3 separate regions of the Homo sapiens genome follow, and all the other regions are linked to region 1. Evidence: promoter capture Hi-C in 16 types of primary human blood cells and fetal thymus (Javierre and others, 2016). All regions are on one chromosome and are shown on one strand. Each heading gives the region's core, a stretch centred on a gene start or on the middle of the fragment in contact. The rest is flanking DNA. Distances are from core to core; before and after follow the strand shown. Region 1 overlaps PTPA (protein phosphatase 2 phosphatase activator). Region 2 holds the start of PTGES (prostaglandin E synthase). Region 3 holds the start of PRRX2 (paired related homeobox 2).

Evidence for each region. The method cuts DNA at HindIII sites, captures the fragments that hold promoters and counts their contacts. A CHiCAGO score of 5 or more calls a contact.
Region 2: a contact is called between the fragment with the promoter of PTGES here and a fragment that was not itself captured in region 1, in 2 of 17 cell types (naive CD8 T cells and non-activated CD4 T cells). The highest score is 5.6, in naive CD8 T cells.
Region 3: a contact is called between the fragment with the promoter of PRRX2 here and a fragment that was not itself captured in region 1, in 8 of 17 cell types (naive CD8 T cells, naive CD4 T cells, activated CD4 T cells and 5 more). The highest score is 7.2, in naive CD8 T cells.

Annotation. Positions count from the first base shown.
Region 1 is chr9:129,126,472-129,129,891 of GRCh38, reverse strand. PTPA (protein phosphatase 2 phosphatase activator) reads right to left here. Exons shown (of 10, transcript NM_178000.3): 4 at 782-907. Among named protein-coding and RNA genes, the nearest start is that of PTPA, 17 kb to the right of the region's middle. RefSeq lists an enhancer at 2,124-3,046. The HindIII fragment of the contact is 7,662 bases long and covers 1-3,420 here.
Region 2 is chr9:129,751,247-129,754,666 of GRCh38, reverse strand. It overlaps PTGES (prostaglandin E synthase), which reads left to right and starts at 1,625. Exons shown (of 3, transcript NM_004878.5): 1 at 1,625-1,780. The coding sequence starts at 1,655. The HindIII fragment of the contact is 13,279 bases long and covers 1-3,420 here.
Region 3 is chr9:129,663,892-129,667,311 of GRCh38, reverse strand. It overlaps PRRX2 (paired related homeobox 2), which reads right to left and starts at 1,665. Exons shown (of 4, transcript NM_016307.4): 1 at 1,186-1,665. The coding sequence starts at 1,444. The HindIII fragment of the contact is 25,989 bases long and covers 1-3,420 here.

The sequences.
Region 1 (3,420 bases), core at 477-2,976:
CTATGTTGCCCAACCTACTCACAAACTCCTGGGCTCAAGTGATCCTCCCGCCTTAACCTCCCCGAATTCTGAGATTACATGTATGAGCCACCGTGCCCAGCTATGAAAAAAATTCCTTTTTGGGGCCGAGCGTGGTGGCTCACACCTGTAATCCCAGCACTTTGGGAGGCCGAGATGGGCGGATCACAAGGTCAGGAGATCAAGACCATCCTGGCTAACACGGTGAAACCCCGTCTCTACGAAAAATACAAAAAATTAGCCGGGCGTGGTGGTGGGTGCCTGTAGTCCCAGCTACTCGGAAGGCTGAGGCAGGAGAATGGCGTGAACCCAGGAGGTGGAGCTTGCAGTGAGCCAAGACTGCGCCACTGCACTCCAGCCTGGGCAACACAGCGAGACTCCGTCTAAAAAAAAAAAAAGATAAAATAAAAAATAAAAAAAATTCCTTTTTATAGCTGCACAGTACTCCATGATATTGATGGACTAATTTATTTAAATAATCCCCTACAGATGGATACTTGGAACATTTCCAGTTTGCTGTAATACAGTGACTTAATAAACAGCCTTGTAGTGCAGAGGGCCGTATGTGCACAGTCGTGTTTCCCAGAAGATGACCAAGCAGAGTATAAACTCATTTGTAATTTTGCTAAGTGAAATTGACATTTTAACAAACTGAGATTTGTATATGCCTAGAAGCGCTATACAATGCAGGCCCTTCCCCAACTGGTGCCAGAACCACCCTCACTGCCAGCCCAGTCCCTGGCCTGTCCTGTGGCAGCCTCACCTCATCAAGTTTGGCATACCAGGTCCTGTATGCCTTATTCCCAAACCGAGAGGGCTGGTCCACTGGAGGAGTCTCATCAATCCACCTGTCCAGCGTGTTGAGAAGAGCGACTAGTTTCTCAATGGCCTGTGGAGGCAAAATAGAGGGGTCCAAGCTACAGAGCAAGTGGCTCCCGCTTAGCCACAGAGGGAAGTCCACTGCTGCCAGACAATGACCCCTTGGCATGGCCCCTACTGGGAACTCTCCCCCATCCCTCTTTCTTCCCCACTGTTCTGAATATGAAGGAGGGTCAGGAGAGCATGATAGGCTTTCCAGAGAGGGAAGCACACTAGGCTGATGGGACAGGGACGGGGTGGCTTTAGCACCTGGTTTCTGTAGGCAGCCTACCCATGGGCTGCTGCTATAGAGAAGCTAACTCCAGCCCTGACATCTTTTTAAAAAGACTTTATGGAAGCCTTTTGTTCAGTATGCAATACCTACTCATCATAAAAAATAGAAATATAAACAGAAGAAAATGAAAATGACCAGTAATCCTGCCACCCAGAAATACACTAAACTTTTTTTTTTTTTTTTTGAGACAGAGTTTCGCTCTTGTTGCCCAGGCTGGAGTGCAGTGGTGCAATCTCGGCTCACTGCAACCTTTGCCTCCCAGGTTCAAGCGATTCTCCTGCCTCAGCCTCCCAAGTAGCTGGGACTAAAGGCGCACACCACCACGCCCAGCTAATTTTTGTACTTCTAGTAGAGATGGGGTTTCTCCATGTTAGTCAGGCTGGTCTCAAACTCCCGACCTCAAGTGATGCACCTGCATCGGCCTCCCAAAGTTCTGGGATTACAAGCGTGAGCCACCGTGCCTGGCCTACACTAAACATTTTAACATACCCTTCTGTGTTATCTTCTCATAGTGTTTTACATGGTTTAGCATGGTGGGCCTGGATTCAAACCCCAGCTAAAACACCATTTAGCTGCTGTGAGACCTTGAGCAAGTGACTAACTCTGAGCCTCTCAGTTTCTTCGTCTAAAAAATGGGGCTGATGATAAATACCTCCGAAGGTGCACAGTGCCCGGCGCGGGGTAATGGTATGCATTCATCGCAGGACACACTCTGCTTTGCAGCCTGCTCCTTTTCCTCATGAACCTCATTCCACATCTACATATAAACATAATCTTATGACAACTTTTACTAAGTGAATAACATTTCATCGTGCCACTGCATTATAATTAATTTAATTCCTCACTGTTAAATGTTTGGGTTATTTCCACCTGTTTCACTACCTATTTCATACACAATGCTATGGTAAATCAGCTTGCAACTCAATCTTTGTGGAAATGCCAGATCATCGTGTGCAATGCTTTGTAGGGTGGCAGAGTTTGAGAGCCCATCCCCCTACACCTTTCCCACAGAAGACAGGGACCAAGAAGTAGAATCGGAGTCAGAGGTGCGGGCAGCATTGGCACATAAAATGTTACTCAATGAAGAAATCGGGTGGCTGTCTATCCAACCCAAAGATCAGTTAGAAGGTGCTCCTTCCAGGTTGGCTTTTAGAAATAGCCCAGCACCAGGGCCGGTGGAAAATACAACGCGGAGGCTATCTGCAGCCATTCAGTCCTGAGAAAAGAGTCCCTGCCAGGAAGTGGATCTTGCCTGTGTCTATGGAAACAAACGGCATAAGAAACTTACAGGAAATCCTGGCACTGGGTAAGAACTAGCAGGGTGATGCCCACATGAGAAGTTGCGCCTGGGAGGGCAAGGCAGACCAGGCCTGCCATGTGCAAAGACTCAGCCAAGAGCTATGTATGTACCTGGGGAGAGGCAGGCTTAAGCTAATGAAACAGGCTGGCCATGCCCCCAGCTGCATATGTGAAACCGGCCCTGAGTGCTGCTCTCTCTTATCTCCCCTTTATCTAGGCTTGGGGCATGGGAGGACAGAAAAAGTAGCCTGTAAGAGGATAAATTTCCCTTTACACCTGGCTAAGGCAGAGGGCTAGGATGGCATAAAGCTGCCTTGCTGAAATGTGAGAGCGCTGCCAGAGCCTGGCTTTGTGAAAAACCAGGAATGGCTGATAAGCACAGGCCAGACCTAACCCATGCAGAAACGGGGGCTTACAATGGATGGCACAGTCATCTTGGCCCCAGGAAGCACTAGTCAGCCCCAGATTCCCCAGGGATCTCAGTCTTAGGCGAGGCACTGAAGGGGACAGAGAAGACGGAGTCACAGGAGCCAGGCCCCAGCTGCTAGCTCAGCTGGGCCAATGAATAATTCAAAGGCTCCCAGCTCCTCTTCAGGAGAGGGCTTTTTGAATGTTGTAGGGGCTGCCTCTATTGTTTGCTGTGTTGGGAGAGAAGGGCTGAAAGAAAGGGAACTGGGGCTGAAACACCTTCGAGGCACAAAGAACAACTCCAGCTCTCCCATTCTCCCTAGGCCAGTGTTTCCTTTTTGGATTTCAAGGACCAGTAAAATCTTCCCTAACATTTTACTGACCATTTTTGAATTTTGCCCCCTTGTAAGTTTTAAAAAAGCAAACAGAACAACAACAACAAAAATAAATCTCTTATCACATTTATTTTGCAAAAATCGAAAATGTTAACCCCCATAAGAGGAGGACAGGCATCATTTAAAATAAGAGCTAGCTGGCCAGGC
Region 2 (3,420 bases), core at 376-2,875, 620 kb before region 1:
TCACATCTGGCTAATTTTTGTATTTTTAGTAGAGAGGGGATTTCACCACGTTGGCCAGGCTGGTCTCGAACTTCTGACCTCAGATAATCTGCCCCCCTCGGCCTCCCAAAGTGCTGGGATTACATGTGTGAGCCACCTGGCCAAGGTGAGGATTTTGAGGTGAGGGATTCAAAGAATCTTAGAAAACAAACGTTGATGCTTTCTTTCTTTTTTGAGACAGGGTCTTGCTCTGTCACCCAGGCTAGAGTGCAGTGGTGAGAACATGGCTCACTGCAGCCTCAGCCTCCTGGGTTCAGGTGATCCTCCCACTTCAGCCTCCTGAGTAGCTGGGAATACAGGCGAGCACCACCATGCCCAGCTAATTAAAACATTTTTTTGTAGAGACGGAGTCTCCCTATGTTGCCCAGGCTGGTCTTGAACTTCTGACTTCAGGTAATCTGTCCCCCTTGGCCTCCCAAGGGGCTGGAATTACAGGTGTGAGCCACCGCGCCCGGCCTGGTGATGCTTTCTACTGAAGAGTCAGTTGATAGGTCTTTCGGGGAGATCTTGTGATGAAGAATCAAAGCATTTGACTGGGGAAAGAGTTCCAGGATAGTCAAGTGATGCTCAGGAAGTCAGTGGAGCCACGTGCTGGTTCCCCATCCCTGCTATAGCAAATTACCACAGACTTAGTGGCTTAAAACAACACAGCTTCATTCTCTGACAGTTCTGGTGGATGAAGCCTGAAATGGGTCTCACAGGGCTAAAATCAAAGTGTCGGGAGGGCTGCGTTCTGTCTGAACGCAGAGAGTTTGTTTCGTCCCCTTTTCCAGTTTCTAGAGGCCCCTGGTATTCCTTGGGCCATGATCTCTCCTTCATCTTCAAGGCCAGCAGGTTAGCGTCTCTCCTGTCTGACCCCTATTCTGTCCTTTCATCTCCTCTCTTAATGCTGCCTCTGTTTTTATATCTTTTCTCTAATTTTACTGCCTCCCTCTTGGAAGGGCCCCTCTGTATACTCTGGGCTCACCCAGATAAACTAGGATAATTTCTCCCATCTCAAATCCTTACGAAATCCCATGTGAAAAGTCCCTTTTGCCACATAGTCACAGTCACGGGTTCTAGGGATTGGGACATGGATGTCTTTAGGGGTGGAGGGCGTCCTTCAGCCTGCCACAGATGGCAAAGTCATGCCATTGTGGCTGCAGCTCCATTGTCCAGGCTGAGTGTGGGGGCGCATGGCGTGGTTCTCATGCCCACCACCTACCCTGACCCTGCGGAGGTGGGCAGGAGGCAGCGATAATCACCACGTGCAGAGGTCCTGCCAGGTGCCCAGCCTCATCATTCCCTAGAAGGCAGGCACCACCACATGCTCCCACACTGTAGATAAGGAAACAGCTTTGAAACAGATTTGAAAGTGTTTGAGGATTTGCCTGGAAGGAGGGCTCCAGAGCCAGGGACTGGGTCCGGGACACCCGGAGACTCTCTGCTTCTTGGAGCTCCGGCAACTGCTTGTCTTTCTCTTCACAGGAGAAGGGGGCCCTGCTGCCGCTGCCGTGGGGCGGGGCGTGGGCGGTGCTGGCTGCAGGAAGGCTCTCCCCTCCCACTTTGTGCTTTCCCTGCAGGCTGCTCCTCTGTCGAGCTGATCACACCCACAGTTGAGCTGCGCTGGCCAGAGATGCCTGCCCACAGCCTGGTGATGAGCAGCCCGGCCCTCCCGGCCTTCCTGCTCTGCAGCACGCTGCTGGTCATCAAGATGTACGTGGTGGCCATCATCACGGGCCAAGTGAGGCTGCGGAAGAAGGTATGTGCCTCCCTGGGGGTCCCCGGCCTGGGTCATACTTGCTTCTCTCCACGTCCTGTCAGGAAAGCCCCGGGATAGGGAAACATGGCCAAGGTGTGTGCAGGGCTGGGAGGTGAGCACCTCTTCCAGCCCCGCCGGGGGGCTTCCTGCCAGTCCCACGTGTCAGCAAGGCCTGCACCTTCTCCTCTCTGGCTTAAGAGCACTTACTCGCTTGCCGTGCCACCGGGCTGAGTTCTTGGCATGGAGAGAGCCAGCGAGTGTCTGTGAGAGAAGCAGGTTCTGGAGGGTGGAGTGTGGGAGCGTGACAGCACAAAGCCTCTGTCTAACCTGGTGGCTTCCCGGCACGGGAGGTCTGATATCTGGGTGGAGTGGGAACCGGCAAAACAGGAGTCCGAGAAACGTTTAAGTGGAAATTCCCAACTCCTGGCAAATGTCACTAACAAGCCCACTGTAGCCTCCAAAGGCCAGCTCCCAGCCGGGCACCGTCGGGGTGCTCAGCGAGGAATTTCCCCACTAATCCGAGCCCCTGAACCAAAACAACATTAACGAGTCCCAGAGCTGGGCCGGGGCAAGTTCCAGTAGCGTCCGTCACACTGGTTGGCGAGTCTGCAAAGTCATAGGCTGAGCTTGTCGGCTGTCCTGGCGGCAGAATGCAGAAAGACCCCAGGCACCTGTTACTTCCTCCCCAGGTATTTTAATAAAGCAATCATTTCCTGAAACTGTCTCTGTCTTCCCCTGTGTCCAGTTCAAAGGCGAGGTGAGGCAAGGCTGGCTCTGGCACTGCATGCGGGTGGATCCTGGGGAGTGAGGATCTTGGCCACAAGCCAGGCTCAGGCCCTGCTGCAGGTACAGGCAGGATTAAAGGCAGGGCAGCTGCCCAAGTGATAGGATGCCCGGAGGCTACAGCACACTGATAGCTTCTGACTTCTCCCTGCCTTGGCTGGTCCTGGGATATGGGATCCGGGCATCAAGTAGAACAGCTGCATTCACTCATTGAATCCTTCCCAGAGGACCGAATGTGGCCCGGAGCTGAGCATGAGATCCCCGCCACAGCCCTGAGGGCAGGGGAGGCGCCATAGTCATCCTGTTTTCTAGGTGAGGAACCTGGGCTCAGAGAGGAGACATCACTTATGAAGGTCACACAGCCCGGTTTGAACTCCAGTGTCCAGCTTCAGAGCCCACATCCTGTCTTGGAGGCGGGGGTTTCTGTTTTGTTTTTTTTTTCTGCTGTCCAGGCTGGAGTGCAGCGGCATGATCTCTGCTTACTGCAACCTCCACCTCCTGGGTTCAAGCAATTCTACTGCCTCAGCCTCCCCGGTAGCTGGCATTACAGACACACACCACCATGCCCTGCTAATTTTTGTATTTTTAGTAGAGATGGGGTTTCACCATGTTGGCCAGGCTGGTCTTGAACCCCTGACCTCAGGTGATCCACCCGCCTCAGCCTCCCAAAGTGTTGGAATTACAGGCGTGAGCCACCGCACCTGGCTGAGGCCTGGGTTCTTACCAGCAGGCCAGCGATTCCTTTTTTTTTTTTTTTTTTAATTATTATTTATTTATTTTAGAGACAGGGTCTTGCTCTGTGGCCCAGGCTGGAGTGCAATTGTGCGATCATAGCTCACTGTAGCCTCGACTTCCTG
Region 3 (3,420 bases), core at 416-2,915, 540 kb before region 1:
CTACTGAGGAGCTAAACCCCAACTCCTGGGAGGTCTGCTGGCTTCACACTCACCCCGGAGGGTGCAGCCAGTGGCCAGTCCACTGTGGCCAGTGAGTGGTGGCCGCTGCCATGAGGGAGCCAGTGGCTTCATCTCAGCCACAGGCTGGCAGAAGGTGCCCCGTGAAAGGCAGGCGTGTCGCAGGCGTCCTCGTGGACGCACATGGATTCAGACTAGGCTGCAGCCACCTCTGTTTTCCCTGCACCTCCTGTCTCTGAAAAGCCAAGGAACGCAGCCACCAGCCTGGGCACCCTGAGACCTGGAGGCTGGTGCCGGGAACAGGGTCCCCCGGGGCGGGTGGGAGGGCTGCTGGAGTCAGGCGGGCACACTTCAGGGGCCCAGAGCCCCCAGCAGGCCGGCCCATCCCCAGAGCTAGGGGACAGGGGCCTGGTTTCAGATCACCGGGCCCCCATCCTTAGTGTGTGCTGAGCCGCGAGGACTCCGGTCCTCCCCTCCCCCACTGAACCGTCCGGGGCTGGGGCCTTTGCTTTTTCTCCATCTTCTCCCCGTCCCTCCCCTTCTTACCAAGGGCTCAGGACCCTGCCATCCTGTGTCACTTTTTGAAAAAGGCCACTTGGGTGGGTTGTTTGTTTTTAAAGCCCCTTCCTGATGACCTTTGACCTCTGCCGGGGAAGAGAGGCCTGGCTGGGCCGTTCCACCGAGGCAGCTGCTCCCGGGGCAAACTGGAGGGTGGGGGGGGGTGGGCAGGCACCCTCGCCCCCCAAAGAGCCCAACTTAAGACCGAGGAGGAGCTGGGGCGGCGCTAGCTCGTGCGGGAGGGGGCGGGTTTGAAACCCCAACGTGCAGCTCAGCGGCTTTGCCCGACTCAGGTCTCTGTTTCCCCAGTTGTAACCCGGCAGCAGCCACACCCACTTCCCAGGCTGTTCGGGAGCCGAATACTGGGGAGCGAAGGCAGCGCACTTCCCCGTGGGGACGCACCCCAAGACCCGAAGAGGGTCCCCCTCCCCCAGCCCAGAGTGCTGGTCAACCGCCGTCCACCGTCACTTACACGCGCCCCCAGAAGTCCTGCCGCCGACCACGCGCCCTGCATCTTCGCCCGCCCCGCGCCGGCTCCCCGGACCCCGCGCCCCGGCCCCGGCCCCGGCCCCGGCCCCGCCACCCCCGTCCCTGGCCGGCCGTACTCACCATCCTGCGGCGCCGCCTCGCTGCCGCTGCTGCCCCCGGACGGCTCCCGTGCTGCGCCCTCCCGCGCCTCGGCCCTGGCCCCGGGGCGCGCCGCCAGCCGCCCGGCCGCCGCCACCTCTTCCAGGTCCAGGAGGTGGCTCACCGAGAAGTTCTTGCGCGCCTGGGCGCAGTCGCCGGGCCCCAGCGCGGGTGGAGGCGGCGGCGGCCCCGGGCCCAGCGCCGGCTTGTCCAGGGCGAAGGCGGCGGCCGCGCTGTCCATGCCCGCGAGCGGCCCCGGGGGGGCCGGCGGGGGTCTCGGGCTCGGGTCCCAGGAAGGGTCGCGGGCGCGGGTCGGAGCGAGAGCCCCGGCCGCCCCGCGCTCTGCCCAGCTCCCGCCGCCTCCTAGCCTCGCGGCCCGCCCGGCGCTGACGTCGGGGAAACAAACTTTCCGCCCTCCCCTTCTCAGCCACGGCCGCTCGCTCCGGAGCCGCTGGTGCACGCGCTGCGCCGGCCACACGCCCCTTCTTGAAGCAAACCTCGCCCCCCGTCCTCTCCTCCGCCCTCTCCTCCCCGCGCGCCTCGCCCGCCCCCACCCCGGCTGCTGGCGCTGGGGGCGGGGAAGGGGTGTCCTCCCTTCACCCTCCCCACCCACTTTTTAGGGAGTGGGAGGTTCCGTGTTTTGTCGTTTTCCATCCCCCAAGTATCTGGGAGGTGATGGCAGAGGGATTCCCCCCTTCCCTTTACAATCGCCTCCGCAGGTGGAGGGGGCGGCCCAGAGACGAAGGCGACGAGCCCCCCACTCCCAGCTCCAGCCTCACTCGCCTCAGCGCCCCCAACAACGGCCCCGCCCGCCCGCGCTGGCCGACAGAGCTCTGTGCACACCACCCGCCCCAAGGCTGTCTCTCCCAGCAGGCAGCGCATCCTCAGGCTCCTGGGGTGTACGCGACCCCCCACCCCGCCTCTCCCCCGCTGCTCCCTGCCAGGTCCCCCACACACACCCACACACCCGGTGCCCACCCCCCAGGAGGCCCCAGGCCCTTCCCCAAGGAAAACCAAGCGGAGAGGCAGGCGCTTCGTTGCAGAATTCCTGGCGCACACACAGAGGACAGCCAGCCTGAGACGGGTGACAGGAAAGAGAGAGGCAGACTTAGGTGTCCGCTCTTGTTTCAGTTTTGTTTTTCAATGAAAGCACAGAAAAGATGTGCGGAGTGAGCAGACCTGAGACCCTAAGCCCCCCGGATGCCACTGCTCTTTCTCCAGGACAGCCGCTCACCGGCCCGTCCCTCTGTCGCCCTGCCCTCACTACGAGGCATAAAGTCACATCAGCCAAAGTCGCCTACCGGAGGAAGCCTTCAGCACATCCTTTCCCTGTTCCCATATGGAAAACCGGCCCGCACACATCCCTGAAAGCCTGCGGACCATTATTTTTATTTATTATTTATTATTATTATTTATTTTTATTTTTTTGAGACAAGAGTCTGGCTCTGTCGCCCAGGCTGGAGTGCAGTGTCGTGATCTCGGCTCGCTGCAACCTCCGCCTCCTGACTTCAAGCGCTTCTCCTGCCTCAGCCTCTCGAGTAGCTGGGATTACAGGTGTGCATCACCATGCCCGGGTAATTTTTGTATTTTTAGTAGAGGAGGGGTTTCACCATGTTGGCCAGTCTGGTTTCCAGCGTCTGACCTCAGGTGATCCACCTGCCTCGGCCTCCCACAGTGCTGGGATTACAGGCGTGAGCCACCGCACCCAGCCGGGAACACTATTTTTAAGGAAAGCCTAGCAATACATTATAATACATTAATCCTCACAGCGTGTGTTGTTTGTGTCCGCCCCCACCCCCTCCCGCGCTGGAAAGGAATCGACTTCAAAATGAGGCCGAGTAGGCCGGGCACAGTGGCTCACGCCTGTAATCCCAGCACTGTGGAAGGCTGAGGTGGGTGGATCACCTGAGGTCAGGAGTTCGAGACCAGCCTGGCTAACATGGTGAAACCCTGTCTCTACTAAAAATAATAATAATAAAAAAAATTAGCTGGGCATGGTGGCAGGCGCCTGTAATCCCAGCTACTGGGGAGGTTGAGGCAGGAGAATAGCTGGAACCTGGGAGGCGGAGGTTGCAGTGAGCCGAAATCACGCCATTGCACTCCAGCCTGGGCAACAAGAGTGAAACTCCATCTCAAAAAATATATATAAATTAAATTAAATAAGAAATAATAATTTAAAAAATGAGGCCGAGTGTCCCTGAAGTGTCTTTAGCCACA